2 separate regions of the Homo sapiens genome follow, and region 1 is linked to region 2. The links are contacts of gene promoters, found by promoter capture Hi-C in human tissues and cell types (Jung and others, 2019). All regions are on one chromosome and are shown on one strand. Each heading gives the region's core, a stretch centred on a gene start or on the middle of the fragment in contact. The rest is flanking DNA. Distances are from core to core; before and after follow the strand shown.

Region 1 (3,646 bases), core at 171-2,670, 59 kb after region 2:
TTCTTGTTCCAGAACCCTCTTTCCAGCTTCGACTGCCTTGTTCTTAGTGAGCACTGCCCGGGAATCCCTGAGCCCCTCACATAGTGACCCTGCACTGGAGGGCTCACCCGAGACTCAGCCAGATTCCCAGCTAGACAGGCCCGGGCCTGAGTCCTAGAGGAACCCCCAGGCTCCCTTGCTATGACCCAGAGTTTAGCCCAGCCCTTCAGTGGCCAAGGCTGGAGGGCATGTGTCTGATGAGGATGACAGTGGGCTGGGGGTGGGGCTCAGAGGAGATCCTAAGGAGGCCTGGGGATGGGAATCCTGGATGGGGAGATCAGGCAAGGGTGGGAAGGCGGACCGCCCCCAGGACAGGGACCATAGTCGGACACAGGACATAGTCGCACACAACTTGCCCTCAGAAGCGGCAGGCGAGGCTACTGACCTTTGGGATTCCGGTACCGGTCCTCCGATCTGGCTGCTGGTACTGGCTCAGCTGCTGGGTGGGAGGAAGTGGGCGGGGCCAGTCAGGGCCTCCTCTGGCCTGGGCTGCCCCACCCCTGCATGCCCTCTATGTTCCCGGAGCTACTTCCTCCTTCCATGACAGCAGCTTCAAGACCCCTCGGTCCTCCCTGCCCCCAGTACTTGGGAGACAGATATGGGGTGGGGGTACCGGAAGCCCTGCCCCCAGCCCCCTTTCTGCCTTTGACCCTCATGGTGGCTTTGAGCAGGCATCTGAATGAGACAGGAGGGACAGGGAAATCTCAGTATTTTGAGAGGCCAAGACAGGAGGATCGCTTGGGTCCAGGAGTTTGAGACCAGCCTGGGCAACATAGGGACACCCTGTCTCTCTTTTTTTTTTTTTTTTTAAAGAGAGACAGGAAGAAAGTCACAGCCCGGAGGATCTTTCACCTCCCAGAGGAGGGGACCACATTTGGATCTTGCATCTTCCAGGGTCCGGTTGGGACAGCCTCTCCCCTCCCGACCCCCAGGCACCGCCCTCAGCCTCTCTTCCTCCTGAGCCTAGTTCTTCCACGGTCCTGGTTGCTAACTCTGGTTTGCTCCTCATGCCCAGCTCAGCCTGATGCTCTCCAGGCAGGAGAGGAACTGGGGCCACAGGCTCCTGAGCCCATCACCACGTGCAGCTGACACCCACAGACCCAGGCCCCAGGGCCATGAGAGGGAGACAGGCGGTAAAGAGTGAGAGACAGAGGAGGAGGGTGGAGCAAGCAGGAGGCAGAGCCGCAGGGCCCAGACAGCTGGAGATGAGAGCAAACCCCACAGGCCTCGTCGTGGGTTCTGTACCTGAGAGCAGCAGCAGCAACGCCACCATCCAGTGGCTGGGCACAGGAGACAACGCCAGCCTGGCCATGGTCACCGCTCTGTCCCCGACCCCAAACCCGTGACAACGTCCGAGGCTCCTTGGAGGAAAACGTGTAACTGCACCGGCTGCAGCCTGTCCCCTCCCCGCCTCTTCCTCACCAGGCCCCTTCCTGCCATGCAAATTGGGACCCAGGGGAGGCACCAGCTCTCCGGGGACCCTGGGGGAGGGCAGGCTTTTGTCAGCTGGGCCGCTAAGGTTTGGCGGTCGCCCAGCTTGGGCAGCACAGCTGGGGTCCTCTGTGGATGCCTCTGGGGGGCCTCTCAGTCTTCTGGGGGAAGCCTGTGCTCCCCTCTGTCTGTGCTTACCCCACCGGTGGTCATCCCCTGGGCCAGCCAGCCTCCCCTCTGCCGTCTGCCAACTCCCCGAAGGGCCGAGCCCGGCAAGTCTCTATTCCTGGGCCGTGAGCGAAATAGGCACCTGTCCTATGAATGAACCTGAACTTAGCTCCTCTGTCCTGAACTATTCCTCACCCAGCGGGAAGAGGAGCACTGAAGAAGGACAGGGCAGCCACAGACCCAGGTCAGGCATCTGGAGGGGCCCAGAGCAGAGCCTCTTGGCTGGAGTGCAGGCAGCCATGTTGGAAGTTGACCCTGTGGAGGATGGGAGCCACAGAGGTTCTGGAGCAAGAGCAGGTCAAGTGTGGCAGCCACTGGGAGAAGATTCAGTCCAGGTCTTGGTGAGAGGCCTCCCTTCCTCATGCTGTGAAAGAGTATGTAGGGGCTGCCAAACAGGGTGGATGTAGGTGGAGACAGCTTTGCGAAAATCCACCACGCAGCCACTGGGGGCTTCTTCAGGGAGTTCTTAACTGTGGGACTCTGAGTGCGTTGAATTGTTGTCTGCAGGTCCAGGGGGTCTTGGGCAGGGAACAGGAGCTGGTGTGGGGGAGCCCTCAGGTCCTCCAGCTGTATCCTGCCTGTCCTCAGAGTGCTGGATGGAGCCACAGTGCTCAGGAACTGATATAAACTCACCTTTGCGCCCCTGCCCCTGGGTCCAATGCAGCCCCTTCAGAGATGCCCTTGTGCAGGGCACAACATGCACAAGTGTACACAGCATGCTTGCAGACCTCAGCCCTGCAGCTGAGCCCTCTGAATTTTATGTTTCCTGGCAGCTTCTTTTTTGTCTCTCATCCTCGACCCCCAGGAGAGGAAGAGATGCTAAATCGTCGGTGCCCTCTGTCCACCTCTCACTCTCCTCACAACCCTCCGTTTTCCAGTCTGTGCTGGGGCAGGTCTGTCTGGATTTAGGGAGAAGCAGAACCACCTCCCATGCCATGGTTGGAAGGCAGAGGGTCTGGGTGGTCCCTCTTTAGATCTTGGCCTAGGCCTCGGACCTGATAAGGTGGGGGCCACTCTCAAGGGGTGCAGGCCAGGACCTGAGCCACGGAAGTCAGGGGCAGGAGGGTTAAGGTTTCATCCGAGGAACAGCCCGTTCCGGGCAGCCCCAGATGTTCTTTCTTGTTTCCAGATGTTCCAAATGAAAAAACATTTCTCTGAAAAGCTGTCAGATGTTCAGTTCATGGAATAAACAGCTCAGAAATATAAACATCACCTGAGGTCAGCTTGAGGCCCATGGGCCCGCATGCTGGTGAGGGTGGCTGGAGAGAGACTGACCCGGGGGGAGTGGGGCAAAATCTGGGAGTCTCATGGTTTAGGAAATACTCTTCCTGAGCCCCTAACGACAGAGTCCTTCATTAACTTTGGGGCTAGTGTCTCCCCAAAGTTGGGGGGTATAACTGGGAAAGGCTTGGGGCACACGTGTTTGTGGGGGGTGTGTGTGTGTGTGTATGTGCATGCTCACACAGGTGTGTTGCCTGGACCCTGTGGTGTGGGGCCTACTCTGGAGCTGGTCCTAGGGCTCAGCGGACTGTAGGGGGCACGGAGGTTGGTGGGGGGCAGTTGGCACCCATCCTCAGGTGACAGGTGCGCTAAAATCTCAGAAATCACCACTAAAGAACTTATCCAGGTAACCAAAAAAACTACCTGTACCCCAGAAAATATTGAAATAAAAAATTTAAAAAAACAAGTGAGAAGCAGCTCCCACTCCAGGGAGGGAAGACACACACATCCCGTGGACAAGGATGCAGATGTGGCCTTTGGGCTTCATTCCCATTCATGCCGGGCAGGGATCTGTTTTCAGGAGGGGCGGAGGCAGCGGGGGCCCCACCGCCTGCAGGGTTATTTGTCACATTTTGAGCCGTGCTGTTCCCTCACTGGTGACAACAGCCCTGAGCCCCATTTTGGGCTCATGATGCCCTTTTCTTCCCAGAACAGGAGGCCTCACAAG
Region 2 (4,021 bases), core at 655-3,154:
GGGATGACCAATGAGCTGTGACCAGCAAGCTGGGACCACTGAGCTGGTGGAATGGCCTTAGTGAGTAATAGCGGTGATGTGTCAGCCTTTTTCTGGCCCAGGAACAGCCAAGCCTCTTATATTTCAGCGGCCTAGTTCCCAATAGACCTTGAAGGCCCTCCAGGTCTTCTTTCCACCTACCCCTTGCTCCATACCACCACCTTCCACCCCATAATATTATAGAATGACACCTAGTCAGATGAAATGATACAACTTAATTTTATTAGGACAAGGCTGATGGGCACTGGAGTGGCACCTTCCAGGGCCAGGAGAGGCACTGGGGAGGGGTCGGTCACAGGATGCCACGCGGGCACCTAGAAGCCACAGCTACCCTCTACAGAGCGGCACTGCACCATGCGCAGGAATGTCTCGACCTTGTCCATGTCCTTCCTGAAGCAGTAGAGCAGCCCGTAGTTCTTGAGCAGTGCGTCATGGTTGTGTGAGTTTGTGTCAAACTTGCTGTAGGTCTGCTTGAGGATCTGCCCAGTCCGGCGGCTGCCGTCTTCCAGCCTCTGCAAAGTGAAGGAAGAGAAGGAGAGGCCAAGCGCTTGGGCACTGTTCCCTCCCTCTCTCATTCATCCATTTTCCTCCCTCCCCTTCAGGGTGTAGAGAAGGGCCTGGAGGATTCACCAGGCGAAATGAAGAATAAGGTGAGTTCTCTTGGGTCAGCGCCTGACTGCTACAAAGAGGGCAGCAGTGTTTCTCTCCCCCAGCCCTCTAAGCCAGTGGGGTTCCAGGATTGGCGACCCCTGGCGCCACCCTCACCCCCATCAGCGTTTGGATGCCTTCCTCTAGGTCCTTTAGGAGGTGATAGTCATCGCTGTCCGAGGTGTCATACACCAGGTTGTTGGCGAACATACTCCTGAGGAACCGCACGGGCTCCAGCCACGACTCGATGAGCAGCAGGGAGATGCGGAGCAGCTCTAGATTCTGCAGGGGAAGGACCGGCAGTGGCTGTGCTGCCCGGGAGCCCTGACCACAGGTCTCCCCCATCCCCGCCTAGGGGAGACGGCATCCACTCACGGATTTCTGTTGCGTTTCCTCCATGTTGGAGGGTGTCGGAATAGAGTCTGAGAAGCAGAAGGAGGTCTGGGAGTCATGCAGGAATGAATACTTCTGGTCCTTTGGGATATAGGTTTCTTCCTAGGAGAAGGACCCCCCACCAAGAAGGACTGCTGGTTTCTATGCTGGAGACCAGCTCCCATTGTTGCTTTTCTGGGAACCTGGCTCAGCCTATGCTCATCTGCCTGCATTTTCGCTTCAGAAAACAACCCTGAGCTCCTTAGTCTCCTCCCATTACTTCCCCAGTGGGGGAAAGTCACCCCTTCTTGCCACCCCTGACCCGCACCCATTCCCCAAGAACTTACAAACTCCTGGTAGGTGTCAATGGCCAGCTGGTGCGCGCGATGGGCTTGGAGCATAGCGTGGTCAAAAAGCCTGGATAACGGAACGGTTTGGACGGCACCAGCCTCTTGAAGCCAGGGCAGGCAGAGCAGGGCAAAAGCCAGGAGCAGGGACGTCCGGGAGCCTGGGGAGAAACCGGAGGGCAATGGAGGGAGCCGGAGAGGAAGAGGCCAGCGCTCTCCCTGCTCCAGGAGCTGTTTGTTTTTTTCTCTCTCTCCATCCCTCCAGAGACCAGGAACATTCAGAGATTGGCCAAATATCTGGCCTTAGATGGCGATACTCACATTCATAAGCCCCAAACCTGAGGGTTAGTGCCCCCGTCCCATCTACAGGGCGCTGCCTCTCCCCTCAGGACACGTTGTGCCCAAAGGGATTTTAGGGGCGCTTACCTGCAGCCATTGCCGCTAGGTGAGCTGTCCACAGGACCCTGAGTGGTTCGGGGAGTTGGGCCTTGGGATCCTAGAGCCGGTCTCTTGTGGGCCCTTTTTATACCCTGGCCAGTTCTCTCTCCCTGCTTGACCCCACCTGTTTCTGTGTACATTTATGCATGGGGCCACTGACGGGCTTGTGCTAATGGATAATTTGGAAGCTCCTCCCACACATGCTGGGATCATGCCCCCTGGCTTGTCGTCTTTCCCTTCTCACCATCACCAGTGTTGTAAGGATTGTGCACAGAGTGTCAGCCACAGACTCCACCCAACTTGTCCTCTCTTTAAGGGTCAGGTGGGTGCCCTCTGGCCGCAGGCCATGTTGGTCAACCTGAATGCGGGGAAGGCTGTCAGGATAGCCAGTCCTTGAGACCCCTACCGACCCCATTCCACTCTCTATCCTATTCCTTTCCTCCTCCCCGCGTGTTTAACTTCCACCCACCAGACAGAATGTGTGTGTTGGGAAAAGGGGCCAAGCACAGCCAATAGATTGTGGGGGTTCTGAGCACCATTGAGTCCTGAATTCCACTTTTGCTGATGACTCCTGGGCCCACCTGAGTCAGCTGGATGCAGTGCTAACACTGACCACTAGAGAGAACCAACCCCACACATTGCTCTCCCCTTTCCCTGAACCTTGGGGCGGAGGCGGTGGGGCTCCCCCAGGTCACTGGGGACGAAGAACCCAGACTCAAGGTATTGCCTCAGCTCCTTGGACCTGCAGCAGAGACACAAACCAAGAAACAGAAATCCCGGGAACAGACACGGACCACAAGCGCTTCCTCCCACAGCCCTGAAACCATCAGAGAATCTCAAGGTTGGAAGAGCTCTTGAAGATTTGAGTCTCAGGGGAACATCACACTCTGGGGACTGTTGTGGGGTGGGGGGAGGGGGGAGGGATAGCTTTAGGAGATATACCTAATGCTAAATGACAAGTTAATGGGTGCAGCACACCAGCATGGCACAGGTATACACATGTAACTAACCTGCACATTGTGCACATGTACCCTAAAACTTAAAGTAAAAGAATAATAATAATTAAAAAAAAAGAAAAAAAAGATTTGAGTCTCTTCCCAGCTTTGGAACTCAGAACACATCACGCCGAAAGATGCCCTATCCAGCCATGGAAGCCCGTCCTCTTTTGTCTCTTCCTCCTTTCCAGACCTGTGTAGAGCTTATCCAGTTGTCAAAGGCCTGCCTGTGCATTCTCACGTCTGATCTGCCACTTGTCTTGTGTAGGAGGTATGAGTATCATCCCATTTCACAGATCAGGAGACTGAGGCTCAGAGAGACTGATTACATGAGCTACCTCAGCCAGGGCAGCAGATCTCCACAACCTTGCTCTTCCCACATTGCATCATTTAAAGTCCTTTCTCCAGGCCGGGCACGGTGGCTCATGCCTGTAATCCCAGCACTTTGGAAGACTGAGGTGGGTGGATCACTTGAGGTCAGTTCAAGGCCAGACTAGCCAACATGGCAAAACTCCATCTCTTAAAAGTACAAAAGTAGCTGTGTGTGGTGGCAGAAGCCTGCAATCCCAGTTACTCCGGAGGGTGAGGAGGTAGAATCGCTTGAACCCAGGACGCAGAGGTTGCCGTGAGCCAAGATTGGGCCATGGCACTCCAGCCTGGGCGCCAGAGTGAGACTCCATTTCAACAACCACAACAACGACGACAACAACAACAACAACAACAAAAGTCCTTTCTCCAGAGCAGGTGGTGTGGTGCTACTCAGTTATTTAGTTATTTTAGTTTCTTTTCTTTCCTTCTTTCTTTTTCTTTCTTTCTTTCTTTCTTTTCTTTCTTGCTTTCCTTTTTCTTTCTCTTTCTTTCTTTCTTTTTCTTTCTTTCTTTCTTTCCTTCCTTCCTTTCTTCCTTCCTTCCTTCTTTCCTTCCTTCCTTCTTTCTTTCTTTTTCTTTCTTTCTTTCTTTCTTTCTTTCTTTCTTTCTTTCTTTCTTTCTTTCTTTCTTTCCTTCCTTCCTTTCTTCCTTCCTTCCTTCTTTCCTTCCTTCCTTCTTTCTTTCTTTCTTGTTTTTGATGGAGTCTCATTCTGTCTCCCAGGCTGGAGTGCAGTGGCATGATCTTGCCTCACTGCAACCTCCACCTCCTGGGTTCCAGTGATTCTCCCGCCTCAGCCTCCCAAGTAGCTGGGA

What was found. The method cuts DNA at HindIII sites, captures the fragments that hold promoters and counts their contacts. A contact is called where the count stands out against the background at its distance.
Region 1: a contact is called between the fragment with the promoter of CD79B here and the fragment with the promoter of CSH2 in region 2, in 1 of the 25 tissues and cell types used here (mesenchymal stem cells).

Annotation. Positions count from the first base shown.
Region 1 is chr17:63,930,911-63,934,556 of GRCh38, forward strand. CD79B (CD79b molecule) reads right to left here and starts at 1,421. Exons shown (of 6, transcript NM_000626.4): 1 at 1,285-1,421; 2 at 425-475. The coding sequence starts at 1,351. RefSeq lists a silencer at 271-340 and enhancers at 1,038-1,427, 1,401-2,071, 1,928-2,037, 2,048-2,097, 2,671-3,646 and 2 more. The HindIII fragment of the contact is 19,928 bases long and covers 1-3,646 here.
Region 2 is chr17:63,871,773-63,875,793 of GRCh38, forward strand. CSH2 (chorionic somatomammotropin hormone 2) reads right to left here and starts at 1,905. Exons shown (of 5, transcript NM_020991.4): 1 at 1,833-1,905; 2 at 1,407-1,567; 3 at 1,063-1,182; 4 at 805-969; 5 at 244-551. The coding sequence starts at 1,842. The coding sequence ends at 354. The HindIII fragment of the contact is 22,462 bases long and covers 1-4,021 here.